3 separate regions of the Homo sapiens genome follow, and regions 2 and 3 are each linked to region 1. Evidence: promoter capture Hi-C in 16 types of primary human blood cells and fetal thymus (Javierre and others, 2016). All regions are on one chromosome and are shown on one strand. The core of a region is centred on a gene start or on the middle of the fragment in contact, and the rest is flanking DNA. Distances in the headings are between cores, read along the strand shown. Region 1 holds the start of STXBP5 (syntaxin binding protein 5). Region 2 holds the start of EPM2A (EPM2A glucan phosphatase, laforin). Region 3 overlaps FBXO30 (F-box protein 30).

Region 1 (4,603 bases), core at 1,153-3,652:
AATTATCTTGAAAAAAATCTTTTGAAGTATTTAAAAAAATGCTTGATAAAACTAATATAGTTCATACACAACCAGGAAAAGTAATTCTATACTACTAGTTTAATGTATAGTAACCTAACAGTTTTTACAAATACATAACAAATGTAGACTATGAGAGAAAAAGTATATCAAGAGAAAAAATTTATCCCCATGCATTTTTCAAGAAAACGCTCTAAAAACTGGTAGAAATATTAACCATTTATAACTATTCATAGAAAATTAATTTGCTACACTTCTGCTAATTGTTTTTCTACACGGACATGCCAAAAACAACCAAATTCAGATTGAAATCCAATCTCTAATTTATTAGAATAGGTCATAAGTTCAATATCTACCATGCATAATATTTTTAAAAGTAATTGTCTTTAAACCTCATCCTTAACATACCTCATTCATCACACCAATAGTATAGAAGCAGATATATTTTTCCTTAGAAACTTCTATCTCCTTACAAATAAAATAGTTATCATAAAAAAACTTTAGACCTCTATTTGGATATATGTTTAGCTACTATAAACTAGGAGCTGAGAAACATCACAGCAGTATATAAGCTGAATTATAATCAAGGGAAAAGCCAACACATGATTTCTCATAGTATATATCTAATCACACCAACAGGAAAATAAAAACTTTCTTTGGAACTAATCAGCAACACAGAAGGACTGGGGAGAACAAAGTAGAAGTTAAAAAATAAAATTAAAGAAAGGATACAGCCTTAAAGCACCAGTCTGAGTTCCCACTGCCAGGATCTTCTGTACAGGATCAAAGGCCAGGGCTGAGGGTTGATAGGGAAATCCATGGCGAACAGTCTAGGGATGGGCAAGTGACATCACAGCAACCAAGGCAGCAAGCGAAATTTTAAAATAGAAAGTCAATAGAGGCGTTAGAATTTAGAACCACTACCACTGATGCAAAACACATACACATGCACTTACTGCTTTTGAAAAAATAAGTGAAACCTACATTAACAAAGTTATTCACATAGAACCTGAAACAAACAAAAATCTAGTCCAGTGATATACTTTAATTTCGCTTTTCCATAATACTGGTATTCCATAGAAGAAAATCTTTTATTAATATTCTATACTACTACATCCGACACCAGATGACTAAAGTTTGCAATGGTCCAAAATTCTGTAAACCCATTAAATGCAATTCATACTTTATTTTGGCAGTATTCATTTCATCATTACTTTATTTGGATGCTAACGCAAGTACTTCTAAGGAAAAGCTGTCATATAATTACTTTAGTCAAGCATTCAGTAGAGCAATAATCAAACCTCTATCCCAACATTTTACACTTGTAACAGAATGAAGATGAGTACAACATACATTTTTGCAATTTACTATTAAGGCCATAATCATTTTAGGGCATTAGACCTATATATATATATATATATATATATATGCACACTTTTAATTAACTCTGACATACAAATACATGGCTATTTATGAGAAAGGCAGGTATTAAAACCGAGGCAAGTTTGTGTTTCTCATTAAGCAGCTGGTGACTTAATTCGCTGCATCATTCTTTCTGAATTACAGAACGCTATGGCAATTATCGTGCCATTAACAGGCAAAAATCTCAGTACTTTTTAACAAACATAATGATAAAAAGAACCCTGTGATTTCATATCGTAAGCCACTTACACCACATTTTAAGGGAAAAGTGATGAGCAAAGGTGTGGTAGAACAGGTTTGGCTTTTTGATAAACAACATTCATTAGACACCGTTTCCAAAGGAAACTTCGAAGTTGGTGAATCATATTAAAACGCTTGAATATAAAAGCTTCCAGGTTATTACTGGCAGTGTCAGAATACGATTAAAGGTCGGATAATAGTTTGAAGCAACCTTGAACTGATTGCTGCATGTGCAAAGGGGAGAGAGAAAAATCAATGAAAAGGAGTAAGGTATCAATCTCCAAAACAACCCACCGAAGAAACGTTTGCCAAGGGAGGAGCGAGCCTTTTATTAGAGTTATTATTATTATTATTGGCGTTCTCTTCCCTTGCATTCCCATGTAAAGCCCGAGTAGCCCCCTTAAAACAACCCCAATTTTTCAATGACGGTGTCGCGGGGCTGCGCGCTCCGTTCACCTTGCAGAGCTGAAAGTGCTCGGACTGGAGCGTTTCCTGGATCTCCGGCTCCCGGTTCCCAGGCGGATGCTGCTGCTGTTGCTGCTGCGACGCCGAGGACGAGCCGGCGGTCAGGCCGTCCAGCACCTTCCTGATGTTGAATTTCCTCATGGTCTCGGAGGGGCTCCCCCGCAGCCCGGGAGGGGAGGCACAGGGGGTCCCCGGGCGGGGGAGACCACCCGGGGCCGAAGGCAGCTTCGACCGCGGAAACGGAGGAGTGGGAGTGTGAGGGTAAGGAGGCAGCTGGGGGGAAGCAAAAGATAATCCGAACAGGAAATACTGCGACGACAAGAGCGGCGGCCGCAAGAAACCTGGGCGGCGACCCCTCTTCCTCCGAGGCCGCCGCTGCTTGGCGCGGCTGCTGTGGTGCCGATTCAGCCGCCGCCGCCGCCGCCTCGCTCCGCGGCCCGGCAGCAGCAGCAGCAGCAGTGGCGGCGGCGCCCGAGCCCGCTCAGCCCAGCCTCACCTGGCCGCGGGCGGACTCTGCGCCGCGCCGCCGCCCCGGCTCGCCCCCGGCGCCGCCACCGTCGCCGCTGCGTCCATGGCCCGCGGCCGCGCCGCTGCTCGCCCGCCCCGGCCCCGCAGTCCCTCGGCGCGTCCTCCGGCTCCTTCTCCTCCTGCCGGGGGTCGCCGGCTCTCTGTCCGCGGCCGCCGCTCGGCCTCGCACACAAGGCGCCTGGTGTGGGTCCCCGCGCCGCCTGCCTCGCCCCGCCTCGCTCCTCCGCCGCTGGACCGGCCCGCCCTCGCCGCTCCCGAGCCCGGCTGCGTTCCTCAGGCGCCGCCGCGGCCGTCGGCTCTCCCCGCCCAGCCGCTCCCCATCGCCTGACAGGGCGCCTCGGCACACGGCACCAACGCCCGCCCGGAGCAGCAGCGGCAGCCGCGGTTACAGCGCGGGCCGCGGCGGTGGCGGCAGCAGGGCCTCCCAGGAGCCGGGCTGCGGTACCTGCGCATGCGCGCCGCAGCCCGGTTCCCCCACCCTGGCCCAGCAGGCCCCCAGCCCCCCAGCCCGAGCGAAGCTGGGGCTTAAATTATCTTCTGCGAAAATCCCAGACGCTGGCTAAATTTCTCCCACCCCAGTCGAGTTGCCAGAGTATGCAGCTGCTTCTCTTGCAGCTGGCATAGTAAAAATGTTGACGACTAACAAGCAGCAGGAAACCTTTCTTTCCAATTCAGTCATTACAGCAGGGGTTGATGCTTTCTCGCCGTTAATGGGGTGCACGCTCCTGGCCGCTGGCTGCAGTATTATTTTTCTTGCTTTATTGACGGGCGTTGTTTTTGTTTGATTGGATTTGAGTTTTGAAAAAGAGCGTCTAGACAACGATATGTCAGTGGCAGGAGGATGATGGACTTAGGTACTAGGAAAAGGAGAGAAACCTAGACGGGAAAAAACGGGTTCTTTCCTACAGCTGTTACTGTTGGTGGAACGTGTCTGGTCTTAGCAGTTAGCTGCTGGGATGGAAGAGGCTGCCAGCGGGGAACGGTTCCAGGGCCGGTGTCAGCCCGGGCCGATGACACTACCCCGCACCCAGCCCCTCGCCGGGGAGGAGCGCGGGTGGCAGGAAACGCCGCGCTGCCACTATTTTTCAGAACCTTCAATCTGCCCTGACGCTGATGAGCCACTCAGTAATGCCCTGGGAGCTTCACTCTAGAACGGGGAAAGGGGGATAGGATGAAGTTTTTGCTCAGATCTTTCCGAGGCCGCACTGCCCATCTCGCGTGAATGCTTGGAGACAAATGCCTGGCTCAAGTTGGAAAAGACAGACAAGAGATTGTGCCGGGGAAACCCCCCGGAGAGTGCGTTCAACAGGACAGGTGGACGGAAGCACAGGTACTTGATTAGGAAGGATGTGGAAATAGGAAAGACGTAAGGAAGGAAGGAAGTGCAGGAAGACTAATCCTAATTCGGGGAGAGGGGGACAGGTTCCTAGCGAATGACTCCTCGCGCGCTCTGGTCTGCGGAAAAGCCACGGAACCGCCACAAAGGGTTTTTTTAAGTTCCAAACCTGTCAGAAGCACCCGCCCTCTTCTTTGTGAGGTCGGCTCCCTCTCCTTTAGGGAAATTCTCGTCACCCTATTGGTTGAGTTAACCAGCATTCAAAAGCAGTCAGCGAACCAACTACGACTGGGCCCAGGGATTTCGGGAAATGTAGTCCACTCTGCAGCTTCCGCATCCCAGGACGATGTCTTGCATTTGGAACCTACAAAATTTTGATTTGTCGTTTAATATTTATTGAATTAGTTGATTCGCTGGGTGCAACGACCAAGAAAACAAATGTGAGGACATTCCTAAACTATTTCCAAGTGGCTCTGAATTTTTTATTAATTTAGTTCTCTAACATTTTGTTGTCAGGCGGTGTGCTAGGTACTAAAGACACGAAAATGCAATCCTTGCTTTCAGCAAGCTCACTACGGTCTAACGGAGACGACT
Region 2 (4,603 bases), core at 784-3,283, 1.5 Mb after region 1:
ATAATATGAGTACGAAAACCATGTGCCTGGCCCATAATATAGGCTCAATGGATATTATCATGGTTAATACTTATACATCCAAATGACTGACCGTCAAAATATGATCAAGGCCTTGATATATGTCCCTTAAGCCCTATTTTGGTCTTGTTCTCCTTTCCAGTTGCATTTTACTTACTACACAGTGCAGCTATCCAATTTATACCTTATTTAAATCCTTGCCATAAAATAAGCTATTACAAATTTTGTTTAGGGGCTTAAGAGGGTTACTTCTTCCAATGGTTAAAATTATTTCAACCTCTTTATGATGAAAGAAGAGTAAAGGAAACAATGTCCGTTGAGCAAAGATATTGTTTAATTTTTCCGCTACTGTTTCTTCTACAGAATGGGCAGAACTCACTCTGGAAGAGCTGGTGGGAATAATGCCATTTGGGAAGCACACAACATAGGCAGCACAGTGGAGCACAAGAAAGTCCGGAGCTGTTAGCTCCCAGGTCCTGAAGGAATGAGAACTTTCACCGGAGTCTGGATTCCACTGTAGACAAAATCCTCTCTGCATCGCCAAATGACTCTTATTTTCCTAAACTTACTCTAAGAATATCTTTTAACAGCAATTTGAATAAACCGACTCACATGCCACTGTGATTTAATGTGTGATTTGCTGCCGAATCAGCTGTGTTTGGCCAGCCCTTCTGTCTTCACATTTTTCATAGTGTTTATCCTTAAGCTTAGCAACCAACCAAACTTCGAGTGGAATATCAACATTCAAGAGTAAAATGTATTATTAGTTTTCTAATTGTTCCACAAGAGATTGAGTTTGTGTAGTTTACATTTTTGCACTTTCTGTTTTACTTATATCCTCAACGCATGAAATTTTGGCCTGTTCCCCTTTACTATTCACAAACTTCCAAACACTGGTAAAAATGCCTTTGTGTGTCTTTAATTCACGTAACAGATTTGTGTTATGTTAAATGTTAGTGAATATATAAACCTAAGAATACAAGGATAATTTTGTTAAAGAATCAAAAAGTATCAGGACATTCGTTTGTCTTATGGCAGAGACAAATTGAAGTTCCCCACCAAGATATACGTATTTTGGATTTGGGCCAGACAGCTAAAAAACCTGTTTCAACTTAAAACCCAAAAAGGTTTTAAGTTGAAAAAATAATGCTGACTTTTGCTGAAAGTAAATTTTAAACAAAGGTTTTTTTTTTTAATTTACTCCATTAAAAATGCATACATTTGGACAGAGCGAGACTCTGTCTCAAAAAAAAAAAAAAAAGCATACATTTGTAGTCACAGAATTAGTTTTTGTTTTGACCTTGAAAAGGACTTGAAAGTATTTACTCCAAACTTACTTTACACATACTAAAAATATAGTTTTTGAAAAAAGAAAGTTGATGTGGCTTTTCAGACAAGGGAATGGTAGGTAATGTTTTGCATCAGCTCCGGGTCTTGGGTGATCTCCACCAATCAGAGATCCTTCAGAGCTCGTAGGGTCTAGAAAGATCATTATTTTACACCCTCATTTTACAGACAAAGAACCTGAGACCTGCTAGAGTAAGTGACTTGGTTAAGATAGGGAGCGCTCCAGAGACCAGGTCCAAGATCTTCCCCCGTTTCACAATTAGAAGGCGGCTGTCTAGAGGTCATTCCCTTCCTTATGATCCTCATAAAGTTAATTTCCAGTCTCTTGGAGAGAGAACTGGACGATCGCCTGGCTTAGAAGTTTTCCTCCCTCCCCGAACCCCGTTTTCTCTTCCATTTCTTCCGGTCGCGTGTCCCCAGCGCCCACAGGTGGAAATCAACCGCCCGCGGGGTTGCGGGGCACAAAGAGGCAGCTAGCGGCTCCGCTGACCCCTTCCCGCCGGCCTGGACGAAGTCTGGGCTCGGGAGCCGCGTGATGCATCCCAAAGAAGGCGCAGAACAGCACGTGTTCTCCCCGGTGCCCGGGGCTCCCACACCACCGCCCAATCGCTGCGGCCGCCTAGTGCTCGGGCCGCGCCTGCCGGCCGCGGGGACTCCGGGCCCGGGTATTCGCGCCGCCGCCGCCCGCCATGCGCTTCCGCTTTGGGGTGGTGGTGCCACCCGCCGTGGCCGGCGCCCGGCCGGAGCTGCTGGTGGTGGGGTCGCGGCCCGAGCTGGGGCGTTGGGAGCCGCGCGGTGCCGTCCGCCTGAGGCCGGCCGGCACCGCGGCGGGCGACGGGGCCCTGGCCCTGCAGGAGCCGGGCCTGTGGCTCGGGGAGGTGGAGCTGGCGGCCGAGGAGGCGGCGCAGGACGGGGCGGAGCCGGGCCGCGTGGACACGTTCTGGTACAAGTTCCTGAAGCGGGAGCCGGGAGGAGAGCTCTCCTGGGAAGGTATTGCCAGCAGACGCCTGCCCCCGGCGCAGAGCGGGAGCTCCGGCCCGCACCCCCAACCGGGGCCTCGGCCTCGGGCAGGCCCCGCAGGCCCCGGCGGCGCGCGTCCCGGGCTTTTTGCCCGCGTCCCTGCGCACTCCCCGGGCGACCTGGGCTGACCCTGCTCTGCCGGCCACGCTGTCGCCGCCAGCCGCGCCTCCGGCTTCCTACTGATTCCCTAGACCCGTATAGCGCTCCCGGCCGCCTTCCCGCCCACTCTGTTGCCTGCCCCTCTGACCTGGTTTCCGCACATCCAGTCCTCAGCTTCTTTCCAACCGCGCCTGCGTCACGGGCCAGTGCCCTTCGTCTCCCGCCCGGGGCTCCCTTCGCCCTCCGAGTGCCCCTCGACCTCCGAGTCCCCCCCTTCGCGGGTCCCTTGGCTGCCCGGCCGCGCGCCGCTGATGGCTTCAACAGCCCAACTCCGCCTTGGTTGGGTTTTGTGTCCTCATTTTCCTGCTCTAATTCACTAAAAAAAACCCAAAACGATCCAACCAACGAAACTAGCGTTTTCGCTAATCCTAGACAGCAATGTGCTACTTAGATTTTTTTCATAGATATTGAGAATGAACTAATGGAAAAACGTTGAATATTTCCCTTTTTGGATTTTTTTTTCTTTTTTAATCCCAGATATATGACAATTGAGACATGACCTGATTTCTTAAAATACTAAAACAATACATGCTGGTTGTAAAATAATAATAAAGAAATGTACATAGTGAAAACTTACAGTGTTTCCTCCACACATCTTAAGCACACTGCTTGTACACATTTATGTATGTGATATATGCATATACTTTTTTTTTTTACAAAAATTGTATAGTAATTCTGAATTTTTGCTTTTCTTGCCTAACAATATGTTAGGGACATCTTTCACTGTCACTACACGTAGATATGTATTTTACATGTAGATGTATATTTTAAATGGCAACAAATTATTCTGCATCTACCAATGTGCATTTAGGTTCTTTTCAGTTTTCCTCTGTCGTAAACAGTAGTGGCTTAATTGAAATTCCTTTTACAGATATCTTTGAACATTCGGGAGTGTTTCTGCAGAGTGGATTCAAAGAAGTGAAATTATTAGGTCAAAATGCAGTCATTTTTTTTAACACTTCATTAAAGACTGCTAAATTATGCCCTAAAAGGGTGATTATCTAATGTCGGCTCCCGCCAACAGTGTCTGAATTGAGACAGCTCCTTTCTTTAAAGGAAATGTGCAAGGTTGTAGACTGGAGTGGGTGTGACTCAATAGTTGAAGTCAATGAAATGAATGTCTCTTTAGAAGTTTATATGAAAAAAAAAATGGGCCATTTAGCCTGTAATGATGTAGAAACAAAGAATCAGTAAAGAAGATTAGAGTGGAATGTGTTTATATATTATCCTTGTTCTCCTTCTCTACCTCACTGGGCTTATGGTCTGGTAGCATTTATTGGTCTGTTATTTTACCATGACAGAATTGAAAGATACCCTCTTCAGTTTATCCTTTCTTTACAGAGTATTACTATTTTTCATAGTATTGTAGAATTATTTTTTAAAATAATATCTGATAATTGTAATAAAAATGGAAATGGTGTGAAACAAAGATCTTCCCTTTCCCTAGTTATTTAGCTTTTCTGATAGTCCTCCCTATGCCGTTAATAGTTTGCTTATGTTGCTATTTCTTAAGGTACCACAAACTTTTGTTTTTAATTTTTCTAATAGTTACCATATAAGTTATATATAATTTTAAAAGTTAAAATTAGGCAATAGATATTGACACCTACTGGATGCTCATAAAATTAACCATCACACTTGTTATGAAATATGAGGAATTTAGCTCAAGTTCACTCTCTGTCTTCCCTGCTGATTTTTTTTTACTATTATTTTCAGTTTTTTTGATAAATATTTTTCTTTACTATCCAAGCAGGAATTATTTTCAGTTTTGTATTAAAAATTGACTGTTGACTTTCTAGGAAGTTACTCCTATAAGAGAGGATAAGAAAAATATTACAATTTCTTCCTGTCTCACTTTGGTTTATTATGACTTTTACATTATCAAGTTTTATATAATTTATATTCTATTTTCTAATTGTTACAGTGCCTTCTTGTTTAAGGTAAATAGACTGATTCTAAACATCGTAAATTAACAGAGAGCTTTATGAGAAGCAGGGTAGCCAAGTGTTTAAGAGCAAGGATTCTGGAGCCAGATTGCCTGGGCTCACCAACCAGTGTG
Region 3 (4,603 bases), core at 1,208-3,707, 1.4 Mb after region 1:
TCACCAGAGGTACTATGCACTAATACCTCTGGACTTTACAAGGGATGAGATTTGCACTGGAAGAGCTTATAACTGATTGCCAAATTTGAAATTTCATTTGTGGACTTAACTTGTAGAAATGGTTAATTAATTGAACAAATCTGTCTATAGTTTTATATCAGCCTTACATTGGAACAGTATATTACTGTTTTAAGTATATTTTATCTAATACCATGTTAATTGTAATACTAAGCTGTAGGCTGATAGCACTTCCTATTTTAAACTTACTTTTCTCACTCTCTACCCTAATCGGGCACCTTTGCATATGCAGACCTTAATCCCTTCCTTTCTTTTTGAACCCAGTGCTTCTATATTCATTATTTTTCCAGTAATTGATCTGCAGGGTTGATGAGGGAATTAAAATAGTGGAAAAATATAAGGTAAATGCTTCCTCCTATGTTTCTCATATTACTATTTAAGATTTTAAAACAGTGGAAGGTTGAAACTGACTTTCTTTGATTTGCTTTTTTTGATAGATGATTCGTCCTACTCCATATATAATGCCTGGAACATATTACTTATGTGCTTAACATGTGTTTGAGCACCATTGACTTTTTATGGCCAATACAATGAAGTAATTTTGATTCAGTTTGATTGATGCCAGATCTGTAAGGTATTTTTATGTGGAATATGTAGTTTTCTGTGAAATGAAGAATCTCATTTGTCCATTTCATTATTTTCTTATATTATAATTCTTCGTATATTTAATACAAATGAGTCTCTAATTGAGGCAGAATTTTGAATGTAGGGAACATAAGAATGAATGAGACTGAGATGATTCTGACTTTCATGGAGCTTATAGCTTTCCTGTGGAAATAGATATTATACAGAATGATGACTTACTTAGAGTTGTCACTAGTATTACCAAGGAAAAAGACAGTATGTAATGAGTACACACAATATGGGATCCATTACCTTGTCTTTGGAGTATGTGGAAAAGTAACAGGTAAGCCAAGACTTAGGGTTGAGGCAGCAGGGGCGTGTGGGGAGGAAAAGGGATGTGTGTCTGTGTCTGTGTGTTAGAGGTAGAGGCAGACATTAGGAACAGCCTGGAGGCAGCAGGTTATTTTGAATACATTAGATGACTCTTATATTTTAAAATCATGCTAATTTGCACTTCTTTATATTTACTTACCTCCTTATGTATTTTAATGAATTTTTTAAAAATGCTTTTTTGAGGGCAATATATTTATGCCTTTAATGACAAGATCTCATTTCATTATATGGGAAAATGCCATGTCTTAGAACTATTTTAATGAATTGCTTGTCAGCCACAGAGTATGAGTTGGCAAAGAACTTCTCTCAGAGAAAATTGAAAGAATTGAAAACATTTGATGATTTACTAATATTTTCTGGTCCAGCGAAACTTTTCCAACAATTTAAATTCAAATATAAATTATTAGAGATGTTAGTTGTTTTCTACTGTGCCTACTGTGTCACTGTTAACTGATAAATAAGAGATTGATGTTTTTAAACCTGTTTTACAGGATTTACAAGCAATTGCAAAATACTTTATAAAGGCATGTTTAATTTGATAGTAGTGGTCTTGATTAGGAAGAGGATGAATCTAGGAGAGTTTTAAATTCTGAAGCTGAGGATTCTATTCCCAGAATACTCTTGAGTATTGACTACTATATTTTCTTAACTTTTTTCTTAATATAGTTAATAGGAAAATGGAATTGAAATTCACTCCTCATTTGTATGGCTATTTTAATAATTGTTAAATTTAGTAATATAATGTTCCATACACTTATACTGAGCATTATCTATGTAAATTATTCTTCAAATAATTTAAAACATATATATTCAAAGCAGAGTAAAATGCTATTATAATTGGAAGGGACCAAAAGACTTTCTTGACCACAGGAGTGATTAAGTGTTGGGATAAACTACAAGCAAAGTTGTGTAATCTCCATTCTTCACATAACATCTTAACATTGGATCACCAGTTACAGAAGTGCTGCCTAAGTTTTTTAAACTTTTATAAGTAAACATACCTGTTATTGTCCATGGATGTTGATCAGACGTGGAGCTAGAACATACAGTCCTAGCTCTGCCACTTACTAGGTAGATGACCTTGGGCAGATCACTTGCTCTTTCTGAACCTCAGTTTCCTCCAGGTTGTTATAAAGATGTGTAAAGAAGGATAAAATAGGTACATAATTACTGTTCTCTCTTCCTTCTAAGTCTACTTCAGAAAATAATAAATGTTATGAACTTGTTGCTATGGATGCTTTTTTGAAACCTTATTCAAAGGGGGATGGGTAGTGTAAAAGAGACTATTTGTTTGAAGCTTGACTACTTTCCTTCTACCTTTGAAAATTATTGCTGTTTTTGCTTTTAACTCAGACCCTGTTGCAAGCAGTTGCTATTTTAAGCACTTTTGAATTAAGTGATGTTTTTAAGATATGTTTTGCCTGGTGATGTCATGTGATGGTGTGTACAGTAACATAAAGTGTCCCTAAAACTTCTGAGAGCACTGGTTACTTCTGGTGAAACTGCTTGTATTTTTAGGTTTCTCCCTTAGTAACAGTCAAGCTTGTAACCTTCAGCATGTGAGATCAACTCAGTCTAGTTCCTGCAAAATAAGAAAGCTACAGCTGTTTTCACAGTCTAATCACTCAGTAAGATTTGTCATAATTCTTAATAAAGTTTTTCTTTAAATGTCTGGTTAATTTACAAATGTTTGTTATTAGTCTTTTATTTCTATATGACTATTTTAGTATGTCTATTTATATATTTCTATACTTATGTCTAAAATTCATGAAGATAAACATTTAAAAGTATTCAACTCATAATTTGTAGTTTTTAACACAATTAAAAAATATAGGTTTGGCGTTGAATATATACCTTGTCTTTTCTTTGACATCATTGAACACCATAATATCAACTCGGAACTTTTCTACTGAATCAAGAAAAGCTCTGTTGATGATGATTCAGGTACACTTTTGTTATTTTAGTTTGAGAAAACTCATACCTCAACTGGAGAAAAAGATAATAGCAATTGAGGAGTGATTAATTAGTTACCTGGAGCCAAGATAGATTTTATGGAAAAATATGTCAGAGAGTTAATAATCTCTTACGCACTGAGGTGAAGAAAACAGGATAAGAATCACCTTCCTATCCAGAAAATTCTTGTCTACTACAATGTAATTTAATTTTGGAAATGTTGAACTGAGTTGCCTGTGCCATATACAAGTAGAAATATATCATAAGTAATCCATTGTAGAGAGTGAAGAGGAGTTTGAAAGAGGAATCTGGGCAGCATGTATAGACGGATTTTCAGCTTATGTATGGTAATTGAAACTTTTGGAGAAAATGAGAGCACCCAGGGAGAATGTACAGAATAAGCAAAAAATGACACAAGCCCTGAAGAAATGCAATATTTAAATAATTATTATTGAGTAATAGTTAAGAAGACTAAGGGTAGGAGAAAGACTGGAGTGACATCATGAAAAGTAAGAGGATGTAATAGTCCTAAAATAAGGGATTAGTCATCATCAGGATACAATGGCCAAGGAAGATGGGGTCTAGAAAAATATGCCTCCAGATTTAGTATTGAGGTTCTCAGCAGAGCAGTTTTAATAGGGGTAGTAAAAATGGGGCCAGAATAGAGAGTTAAAGAATATATAGGAAATTAGACGTTTTTTTTTGGTGGTTTTCAGTTTTTCTTTTGAAAGTTTGACTGGATAAGAAAAAAAAAATGGTGGTAAAGGGGGGATATTATGTTATTATTTCAATTATTATTATTATTTTTTGAGACAGAGCCTCACTCTGTCACCCAGGCTGGAATGCAGGGGTGCACAGTCATGGCTTACTGCAGCCTCAATCTCCTGGGCTCATTTGAGCCTCCTGCCTTGGCCTCCCAAGTAGTTGGGACTACAGGTGCATGTCACTATGCCTGGCTAATTTTTTTGTTTTTATTTTGTAGAGACAGGGTCTTGCTATGTTGTCCAGGCTGGTCTTGAACTCCAGGCCTCAAATGACCCTCCTATGTTGGCCTCCCAAAGTGCTGGGATTACAGGTTTGAGCCACCGTGACTATTATTTTAGTTTTTAAAGGTTAAATAATCTTTTAAAGTTTTTATTGCTAATAGGAAACACACCAGTAAAGAAGTTGATTATACTAAAAATACATTGAATAGGCTCAATAATTATAATTAAGTCAATATATTATGGTTAGACTTTTATTTTTCATATAAAACTTTTCTTTATAAAGGTTATGATGGAAATTTTAAAGCAGGGAAGACCATTAGACATCTATAATCCATTCATGTTATTTTATAGAACTATTTCTCTGCTTAAAATTCTCAGTGACTTCCAGTTGTAAAAGTGTGAACTCTTTGGAGCAGCATAAAGCACTCATCATGATTTGCCTTATTCCTTTCTGACCTCATCTCTTACAGATACCTGGCATTTTCCCCTGTGATCCAACAATACTAGGGAACTTGAGGTTTTGCTAATTCATGCTTTTCTGTATTTGCATATGCTATTACTTCTGCATTGAATGCCTCTCTTTCTTACCAGTTTACCGTCCCATACTTAAGACTTCTCTTTCAAGACTA

Evidence for each region. The method cuts DNA at HindIII sites, captures the fragments that hold promoters and counts their contacts. A CHiCAGO score of 5 or more calls a contact.
Region 2: a contact is called between the fragment with the promoter of EPM2A here and the fragment with the promoter of STXBP5 in region 1, in 2 of 17 cell types (fetal thymus and total B cells). The highest score is 8.2, in fetal thymus.
Region 3: a fragment that was not itself captured here is called in contact with the fragment with the promoter of STXBP5 in region 1 in 2 of 17 cell types (total B cells and fetal thymus); the score reaches 6.0 in total B cells.

What each region holds. Positions count from the first base shown.
Region 1 is chr6:147,202,216-147,206,818 of GRCh38, reverse strand. It overlaps STXBP5 (syntaxin binding protein 5), which reads right to left and starts at 2,402. Exons shown (of 28, transcript NM_001127715.4): 1 at 2,137-2,402; 2 at 751-848. The coding sequence starts at 2,286. It overlaps STXBP5-AS1 (STXBP5 antisense RNA 1), which reads left to right and starts at 2,205. Exons shown (of 11, transcript NR_034115.1): 1 at 2,205-2,406. It overlaps LOC124901422 (a long non-coding RNA gene), which reads left to right and starts at 3,248. Exons shown (of 2, transcript XR_007059803.1): 1 at 3,248-4,003; 2 at 4,526-4,603. RefSeq lists silencers at 2,260-2,449, 2,620-2,699, 2,720-2,769, 2,800-3,219. The HindIII fragment of the contact is 4,433 bases long and covers 1,831-4,603 here.
Region 2 is chr6:145,732,950-145,737,552 of GRCh38, reverse strand. It overlaps EPM2A (EPM2A glucan phosphatase, laforin), which reads left to right and starts at 2,033. Exons shown (of 4, transcript NM_005670.4): 1 at 2,033-2,355. The coding sequence starts at 2,055. It overlaps EPM2A-DT (EPM2A divergent transcript), which reads right to left and starts at 2,684. Exons shown (of 3, transcript NR_038246.1): 1 at 2,633-2,684. RefSeq lists enhancers at 1,619-1,668, 1,689-1,738, 1,749-1,808 and a silencer at 1,969-2,558. The HindIII fragment of the contact is 8,125 bases long and covers 727-4,603 here.
Region 3 is chr6:145,807,328-145,811,930 of GRCh38, reverse strand. The region is part of intron 1 of FBXO30 (F-box protein 30); the gene reads left to right. The region is part of intron 1 of EPM2A-DT (EPM2A divergent transcript); the gene reads right to left. Among named protein-coding and RNA genes, the nearest start is that of FBXO30, 5.2 kb to the left of the region's middle. The HindIII fragment of the contact is 245 bases long and covers 2,335-2,579 here.